2 separate regions of the Homo sapiens genome follow, and region 1 is linked to region 2. Evidence: promoter capture Hi-C in 16 types of primary human blood cells and fetal thymus (Javierre and others, 2016). All regions are on one chromosome and are shown on one strand. The core of a region is centred on a gene start or on the middle of the fragment in contact, and the rest is flanking DNA. Distances in the headings are between cores, read along the strand shown. Region 1 overlaps LARS2 (leucyl-tRNA synthetase 2, mitochondrial). Region 2 holds the start of CDCP1 (CUB domain containing protein 1).

Evidence for each region. Contacts are between HindIII fragments. The CHiCAGO score rates a contact against its expected background, and 5 or more counts as called.
Region 1: a contact is called between a fragment that was not itself captured here and the fragment with the promoter of CDCP1 in region 2, in 1 of 17 cell types (M1 macrophages). The highest score is 5.9, in M1 macrophages.

Annotation. Positions count from the first base shown.
Region 1 is chr3:45,496,287-45,500,742 of GRCh38, forward strand. It overlaps LARS2 (leucyl-tRNA synthetase 2, mitochondrial), which reads left to right. Exons shown (of 22, transcript NM_015340.4): 14 at 1-87; 15 at 4,156-4,293. The region is part of intron 2 of LARS2-AS1 (LARS2 antisense RNA 1); the gene reads right to left. Among named protein-coding and RNA genes, the nearest start is that of LARS2-AS1, 11 kb to the right of the region's middle. The HindIII fragment of the contact is 3,300 bases long and covers 371-3,670 here.
Region 2 is chr3:45,143,441-45,148,254 of GRCh38, forward strand. CDCP1 (CUB domain containing protein 1) reads right to left here and starts at 2,938. Exons shown (of 9, transcript NM_022842.5): 1 at 2,766-2,938. The coding sequence starts at 2,847. The HindIII fragment of the contact is 9,970 bases long and covers 1-4,814 here.

The DNA of each region.
Region 1 (4,456 bases), core at 771-3,270, 350 kb after region 2:
AGCCAAGAGAGAGACAGACACGATGGATACCTTTGTTGATTCTGCTTGGTACTACTTCAGATACACTGACCCTCATAATCCACACAGGTAAAACGTCCCTGCTGATGTCTTTGAGCATTTGTCAGTGTGGCTCCTCCTAGAAGCAAAGACCAAGATGGAATTAGACATGCAAGAGATTTCTTGGGGGGAAATGCCTGTGCAGATTAAAGGGGAGAAGAGGAGGAGTGGGCAGAGAGTGCTCTTAGACCACGATGGAGCTGTGACAGGTGTGAAAGGAGAAGGGAAAGGAAGGAGGATCAGGTGGAGGAGCCTCAGCCCACAGCACAACTCTGAGAAAGCCTCGACCTGGCCAGTGGGAAGGCCCAAGCAAAGCTTGTCCATTAGAGTCTTACAGTCAGGCTAAAATGGCTCTGCTCCAGCCCCTCCCTCTACTCTCCTGGGAGCAGCCTGGGAGAGCAACATGGGCTGGCAGGAACACACCAGAGTGGGTCCACAGATGCAGCAGCTGGAAGCTGTCAGTCAACTGTGCACCTCGGAACAGGCTCTCTTAAAGGGAGAGTGCTACATCATTAAGTTAGATTATTCACAGCCAAGTAAATCCCAAGTACAACACAAATACAAAACGGAAAAAGAAGGAAATGCTACTGTGATACCCTCCTTGCAGTGAACTGCATTTGTATGATTGTAAAGATGTAATGTTATTTATTTAACTGAAAAGAATAATGTAACTCTACAGAGAAGGTAGCAGGTAGGGAGGGTGAGACCGCTAAGAAGCCTCACCTCTTACTACATAGTAGATCATTTCCTAAATTGATAAATCAATAAAGAGTATAAACATGTTTTTTTTTTTCAATAATTGCTGGGAGAAACAACCAAAAGAATTAAAAGTGGCTAAGAGACAGGCCTGAGGCAAGGAAAGAATTGGGGCTGGAGACCACTGTTTTTCATTGTAAATCTTTCAGTACCATTTTGATTTTTAAGCTGTATTCATGTGTTTATTTGAACCCCGCCCCCCCCAAAAAAAGAAACAAATTAAGGAAAAGAGAGCAGTAGGTAGCCTTATAAAGAGAGAGAATGAGAACCGAAAGAAACTCTTCCAGAGCCCAGGAAAAAACACAGCATTGTGCTTAAAAGGGCCTTGCCTAATTGCTCTTGTCCATGGCAGAAACATTCTGGAACCCTGTTGCCTACATATAAAATATGCCTCCCTATTCTTCGTGGTTCTAAAATAATATCTTTCTAGTGAGACAGATACTCCTGCCCTCACCCTGCCAGAATTTCAACCTGCAGTGTTGTGATTCTGTAATTTGAGTTCATATCAGATATAAGGGGGATCCTTGTCAGGCATGGTGGCTCACGCCTGTAATTCCAGCGCTTTGGGAGGCCGAGGCAGGCTGATCACCTGAGGTCAGGAGTTGGAGACCAGCCTGACTAACATGGCAAAACCCCAACTCTACCAAAAATACAAAAATTAGCTGGACACGGTGGCACGCACCTGTAATCCCAGCTACTCAGGAGTCTGAGACAGGAGAATCGCTTGAACCCGGGAGGCAGAGGTTGCAGTGAGCTGAGCTCGTGCCACTGCACTCCAGCCTGGGCAACAAAGTGAGACTTCCTCTCAAAAAAAAAAAAAGAAAAAAAAGAAATGAGGGGGATCCTGAGTGAAAGACACCCTGCAAAGGCAGGAAGGGTGCAAGGTGACGACTGTGGCTGGGAACCACCAGCATGGCCTTCTCTGGCCCACAGAGGGGCTCCCCTTCAGGGCCTTCCCTCTATAAGGGGCCATTGGTGCATTTCATGTAGTAACAACTGGCTTAGAATGCAAGTGAGGTCAGGCTCTTTCCTTTCTCAGAGTGCTTCAAAGGAAAGCCTTCACACAGATGAGAGAGACCTCAAGTTACCGTGGCGGGAGAGACATCCTGAGACCGTCACAGCCCCCAGTTTGTGAACAGCAGTGAGCACTTCATTTCCCTCATGACACACTGTAGTTAGCTTCAGCCCCAGCACGAGTTCTTCCTGGGGTGGTTTCCTGAGTGGATCATAAATCTGAGCTGTAGCTACTTTCAACATTTCACTCCTTAATATATCCCAAACTTGTTTTCCGGCCAAATACCATCCTTCACTTTCCTTTCTTTTCTGTCGCCTGGATTGGCAGTTGAATTTCTTTAGGGAACTGTTTTTCACGAAGAAAAAAAGTGTTTTTTAAAAATTTTATCAGAATTCTGGTACAGTGACTGGAGAACACCAAACTATATTAAGATGCAAATATGTGGTGGTAGCCAGGCTCTTTTTTCTAGCCTCAAAGCTGAAGCCAGCCAAGTCTATCCTGGGGAAAAAGGTGGCTTGAGGTGTCAGGGAACCAATTCACAAATATTCGAAGTCCTCCAAAGGCAAAGGTTTGCTTGATTGGCTGACCTCAAGGGACGGCATTACCTTGGCAACACAGAGGTCTGTCGCCAGCCAGTGCTGCCCCTCCCACCGAAGGTCCCAGCCAGAAAATGGAAATGACATTTCCTTTCCTCTCCAGTGTCCTTTAGGACCCAAGAGTATGAGAAAGCCTTTCTATTAGTATCTGTTAGGTGAGAGTTATTGGGCTATTATATGACAAGTCACCTTAAATATGTTGCATCGCATTCAGTAAGCAATATACAGTCTCTAGCTGAGTATATTTTCAGACTGCTTTAAAAAATAAAATCAAATTTCTATTTTAAAATAAACATTTACAGCTGGGGCACAGTGGCTCACATGTGTAATCCCATAACTTGGGGAGGCCGAGGCAGGAAGATGACTTGAGGCCAGGAGTTCAAGACCAGCTGGACTGAACGTAGCAAGACCTCGTCTCCATAAAAAATGTTTTAAAAAAATTAACTGATGGCCAGGTGCAGTGGCTCACACCTGTAGTCCCAGCACTTTGGGAGGCCGAGTTAGGCAGATCACCTGAGGTCAGAAGTTCAAGATCAGCCTGACCAACATGGCAAAACCCCATCTCTACTAAAAATATAAAAATTAGCCTGGTGTGGTGTCAGGCATCTGTAATCCCAGCTACTCAGGAGGCTGAGGCACAAGAATAGCTTGAACCCTGGAGGCGGAGGTTGCAGTGAGCCGAGATCACGCCCCTGCAACCGAGCCTGGGTGACAGAGCGAGACTCCGTCTCAAAAAGAAAATTAAAAAAAAAAAAGAAAAAATTAGCTGGGCAGAGTGGTGTGTGTCTGTAGTCCTAGATACTTGGGAGGTTGAGGCTGGAAGATCGCTTGAGCCCAGGAGTTGGAGGCTGCAGTGAACTATGATTGTGCCACTGCGCTCCAGCGTGGGTGACCAAGCAAGACCCAAACTTTAATAAAGAAAAAAAAATGTTTTTTAATGTGAAAATAAATTAATAAATAAACATTTAGTATCTGCATGTTAATCTTCATTGTAAATACCACATTGCCCTCTATTGGTAGGAACTCTGACATCTCAATTGTGTAATCATAATAATAAAAATTAAAGTGAATCTAGATATTCAAGGTGCATTGTAGCAAGATGCCTTTTTTTGCTGGTATGTTTTCCTTTTGTCCTCATTTTATATGCAAATTGCTTTTGTTGAAATATGTCAGTAATATCTTCTGTAACCATTTTTATAATTTCATAAATTAACACTTACCTGACTTTTTTCTTTTTTATTATATAAGCTTTTCTCATATATATATTTTTGTTTGTTTGTTTGTTTGTTTGTTTGTCTGTTTTGTTTTTGAGACAGAGTCTCACCCTGTTGCCCAGGCTGGAGTGCAATGGCACGATCTTGGCTCACTGCAACCTCTGCCTCCCGGGTTCAAGTGGTTCTCCTGCCTCAGCCTCCTGAGTAGTTGGGATTACAGGTGCCCACCACTACAACTGGCTAATTTTTGTATTTTTAGTAGAGATGGGGTTTCGCCATGTTGGGCAGGCTGGTCTCGAACTCCTGACCTCAGGTGAGCCACCTGCCTCGGCCTCCCAAACTGCTGGGATGACAGGCATGAGCCACCGCGCCCGGCCTTCTCTTATATTTTAAAAAAATCATTGTTATTCCCTGATACGGTTCATTTCAGGGCATATGCATATTACAATAGGCCTGTTTAATTTACACAATTGTGGCAAAGCAGGTTTTTAAAAATGCCTCCATCTCTTTTTTACAGCCCTTTTAACACAGCAGTGGCCGATTACTGGATGCCTGTGGATTTGTACATTGGAGGGAAAGAACATGCCGTCATGCACTTGTTCTATGCAAGATTCTTTAGTCATTTTTGCCATGATCAAAAAATGGTTAAACATAGGTAAGCACTTATACTGCTTTGCAAAATAATTGAGTTCCATGAATAGCAACTTTAAGCAGGTGTCAGTTCTTCTGAAGCAAGGTAAATGCATGTAGTAGAATACTAGTTTTCTAGTATGCTTTAGAGGTTGTCAACCTTAATCATTTGAGGTCCATTTATATTG
Region 2 (4,814 bases), core at 1,688-4,187:
ATAAGAAAAACTGGAAGCAACTTAAATGTCCAACAACTGGGGACTGGTTAAAGCCATACAATGGGATGATCCCATTTTTGGTTTGTGCACATGAGCGTGCATACATACACATTAAGAAGACTGCATCAAAGTGAATAAGGCAGTTTGCTTATAGATAATTTTTTTCCATTTTGGTTATATTTATTGCCACTTTTTCTACAATAACTATATGCTACTTAAAACATCTTAATTATTAACTTCCTTCCCCCATATTGATAGCCAGGGAGAACACCCAGAAGAGTGTGTGTGTGCACATGCAAGGCGTGCAACCATCATAGATGAAATGGCAGCATCTGAGGTGAGCCCTAGGGCTAACAGGTCTGACTCCAAGTCATGCAAATCTGTGGGGATGTGGGGGAGGAGATGGGGGAGACTCATCAGCGCTACCAGTTACACATTCCAGACAACAGCCAGTAGCTCCTCATTTGAATCGGAAACAGAATGAACACCCACACTCACCCAGGGAGTGTGAATATATCATTTGATCTGTCTGCTCACATTTTTGGCAAGAGACAATGGTGGCAAGATTGGGGTCACTGACCCAGACTCTGGTATCTGAGTGGTTCTTAGAAAGCAACCAAATGGAGGTTTTCAAAAGGCTATGATCCCAATGTAACCAGTGTTTCACTCTTGGAAATGGGGGAGTTGGTGGGGATACCAAAGTCACACAAACACACGACACCAAGACACAAACTTTCCTTTACTTTTCATCTCTGCAGTGACACCAAATTCATTTTTACTCTGCTGAGTCTTTCTTTGTTAAGAGACTTCATGGATTTATAAAACAAATCCACTGTGCCAGGGCTCTGGCTTTCTGTATCCTTTCAGGACAGTCTCCAGGAATTTCTCAAAGGCCTTTGCCACTTAGATCCTCAAGACTACAGGCAACTACTCCAACCACAAAAGCTCTCAGTTCAGCCTGATGTACCCTCAAAGGGCCAGTTCCTGAGACCATAGGGAGGAACTTAAGAAAGCGAAAGGGAAAGTTCCTAGGTTTCTACGTATTTATGTATTGAACCATGAGACAGGGCTCAGCCAGTCAAGGACTTCCTGGAAGGGACTCCATTGGAGTTACTGGACCAAAATGGCAGCCTTCCCAGATCACAGGGAGAAATGAGACCAGGAACAGAGGCTCTCATTATTAGCAATGCCTTGATTAACACCCTGTTCTGACTGGAAGAGTTCCCCACTGTTGTCACAGAAAGCCAAAAACATCTCAGATAATTCCCAGAGTTTCAATACTGTTCCAAGACTGGTAGGCACGCATTTTTCTCAGCACACATATACACATATTTTCACTTCCTTTTTATTCTTAAACTAATTCTTTTTCTTCAAAGGGAATCTTGGAAATTCAGTCCTAAGAAATTATAGTAAATATTCATCAGCCAGGCACAGTGGCTCACATCTGTAATCCCAGCACTTTGGGAGGCCCAGGTGGGAGGATCACTTGAGCTCAGGAGCTCGAGACCAGCCTGGGCAACACAGTGAAACCCTGTCTCTACTTTAATATATATAATTTATATATATATTTATAAATCCATGCCATGGTTTAAATGAAGTTTTAAATTTTCTATCTACTATGCAGCAATATGTCACCTGATGTTGGAGAATGAACCAGGAAGTATTCCTGGAGCTTATATTGATATTTTAGAAGCTCCTGTCTTGTATTTGTAAAGACGGCAGTCACCGGGACGCCCAAATTCAACCTCACTTGCGTCCTTTTATTCCTTTATCTAATTTACACCTGCCAAACACAAATCCACCCTAGATGCAGCAAGGGGAATCAAACCCACATGGCTTCCTGGAGAGCTCTATTTAAAAAACACAAAACCTGTACTAATCTCGCGAAACCTGTACTAGCCTCACATCAAGTTCTTACATGAAGAAACCAGGTTATTTACTACGTTCTAATACATCCAGGGCCCACAGGGCATTTCCTGGCTGGCACAGGTCACTGGGACGTGTTGGTCCCTTCCCCCAACCGAAACAACTCGAAATTCACACATATCCCCGGAACAACAGCCTCCTGCCCTCAAAGTCCACTGCCAAAAAGTGCGAGGGGCGCGGGAATGTCCAGTCTCTGCGGTGGCGCAGATGCCTGGCGGCTTTCTCTGGGACCCCCTAAAAGAAATCCGGGCGCTTTCATTTTTGCACCAACGCTCTTCAACTTTAGGAGAGGGGGAATGCAGCGTGCGGACGGGAAAAAGGGGATCTAGTGGGAAATGCGGACGTGAAAGCACTTTTTTTGCACCTTCTCTCTGGACCAGGCGAGGAGGTAGAGGGCGAGCCTGGAGAGGAAAGATCTCTTCCCACACCCTGCCTGGGTGCTTTCAAGAATCCCGGCAAAGACCCTGGGGCGCACGGCGCGCCACCTTGGACATGTCGCCTGGGATCGGCTACCGGGAGCTCCTTTTCCCGCCTTCTCGGCCAGCACCGGGCTCATCCTCCCGGACCGGGAGGCTCCCCGATCGGGGACACTCTCACGTGCCGAGGGCAAGGTTGACTCCAGGAGGGCAAGGCCCACGCGCCCGACGCGGCGCGCGCAGGAACCGAACAGTCCGGGGGTCCCGGAGCCACCCGCGCATTTTGACTACGCCGTCCCCGCCCTCTCTCCGCACCCTCCGCACCCTCCGCACCCTGCGTCCCTCGGCCGCATCTCCGCCGGGCGTCCGCTGGCTGGCTAGCTCACCACTCCACGCCATCCGCCTCCAAAGCCCGGCACTCACCTGCCCCGCGCGGCAGGCGCGCCGCACCCAGCAGCAGAACCCCTAGCAGTGCGATAGAGACCCCGCAGTTCAGGCCGGCCATGACTCCGGGACGCCTCGGCCTCGGTGGGGAAAACGACGGTGGGGAGCGGCGGCCCCAGGCGCCCAAGCCCGGCGCAGCTGCGCTCCGCCCTGGCTCACTCACCTGCGCGCGGGCGGACCGGCCCGAGCCCCGCCCTGCGCAGCAGGATCGCGAGCTGACCCGGTGCGTCCCTCCTCTCTCTCCTCCTCCTCTTCCTGCCTCAGCGACCGCCTCTCCCTCCCAGGGTGCAGGGCTCCCGGCACCGGGTTGCTGGGTCCCTACTACTCCCCATTGCGGCGTTGGAGCGGACTTGTCCCCACCTTTCCGGGCTTAGTCTTCCTTCCCAAGTCTGAGAATGATGAGGTCTTTTTCTCCAGAGTCGCGAAGGTCGCCCATAGAGGAAGCCAGTCTACCTTCCCTTTTCTGTCGAGGAGACAAAGGCCATTATGCGCCTCGTTTTGGAGAAGAATCCTATTTGTGGGCCACCCAAGCCCTGGATCCTCTGCTACTTGACTTGGGCCAGAGGTCTGTTGGACTTTAAAGCCGGTGGTGGTACAGCTAGTATTTGCAGGACGGTGAGCCTGCAGCCTACTCCACACACATCACCTGCAGTATTTCCAGACACGCAACGTGTCCAAGGTCCCCAGGGTAGCTAGTAAATTAGAGGCAGATGCACCACTTCGTTGAATTGTGAGTAGAGTAGTATGCATCCCTTCACTGAGCTGTGGATGGAGTAGTATGTGCCCTTCTCGAGTTGTATTATAAATGGAGTAGTGTGTGCAGTGTGAGCGTGAAGCATTCAGGTCAAACGTTGGGCTGGAAAATGAATGAAAAATGAATGGCGCTGGACTCCTTTTCCAAATCCTCCCAGCCGCAGGTGTGCCACCTGCCTGTCTTCAGAGGCCCTGTGGGTTCTCCTTCCACCCTGCCGGCCATACACCAAGTCCAGGCCACAGGCAGAGATTGCGGATGGTTCAGGAGTTCTTAGCTAGCAGACCTGGGTTCTGCCAGAATGACTCCCTGGGACTACTTGTGTTCATGGATAGCCAGAAGCTGGGCCAGAGTCACCCGGAGCAACCTGGGAGGCTTGGGACAGGAACCAAAGCATGTGCGACAGCATCAGTTTACAGTCCAGTCCCAACTTCTGCTTAATTCTTGCGGGCACTGAGCCTCTCCAGGCTGCCCCAATCCTCCTTGTGGACAGGGGTGGGAAATCATCTCCTAGGAGCGTCACCCCTTCCTTCTCGATGTCCTTAATCATGAGAATAGAGCTAGCTCTGCCCTCTGGGAGCCCACAGTCCATCGAGGGAGGCAGAACTTGGAACATGACCCTGCCCACACCCCCACCTCTGGGAGGGCCTGTATCGTGAGCTAAACGGGACCTTAGATGTAATCTTCTAGTCCACTTCTGTCCTTGTGCAGAAAAATGGGAAAACTGAGAACTAGAGGGAAGGGAGAGGATGAGAAACGAAGAGAGGCTCTTGGTTCTCCCCACTGAATCGAGGACAAATTCATCAAGAGAAAGAAATCTTGACAAAAATCTAAACAATCTTTAAAAATATTTATGCTGACCAGGAGGGTGAAAGGAGATTTGTCTTTTCTCCTGATTCTAAGCAGGCATATATATCCCAGCATCTTTTCCTAACATCCATGACACCATTGTTTCCCACATACAGTAATACCCACAACAGTACTAGAATGGCAGTGTATTGAATGCAAAATATCAGAAATATTGCTTGACAAGTTAAGCCTAAGGAACAAGTTATTTCCTTACTATTTCGTCTCTCCAAAGTTTGCTTAACTGTCTTTCTTGGGATAGTTGACACCAGCTTTCTGAAAATGGAATGAGAGTCACTAATTCCCAAATATGAAGCATTGGTGGTGGTTCCAGAAAGTAGCAGCAACGAGAAAGAAGAAAATAGGGAGGCACTTCAGCATCCTTTGCGTGACAACCCAACTACATAGTTGAAGTAAAGATGTCCTGACAT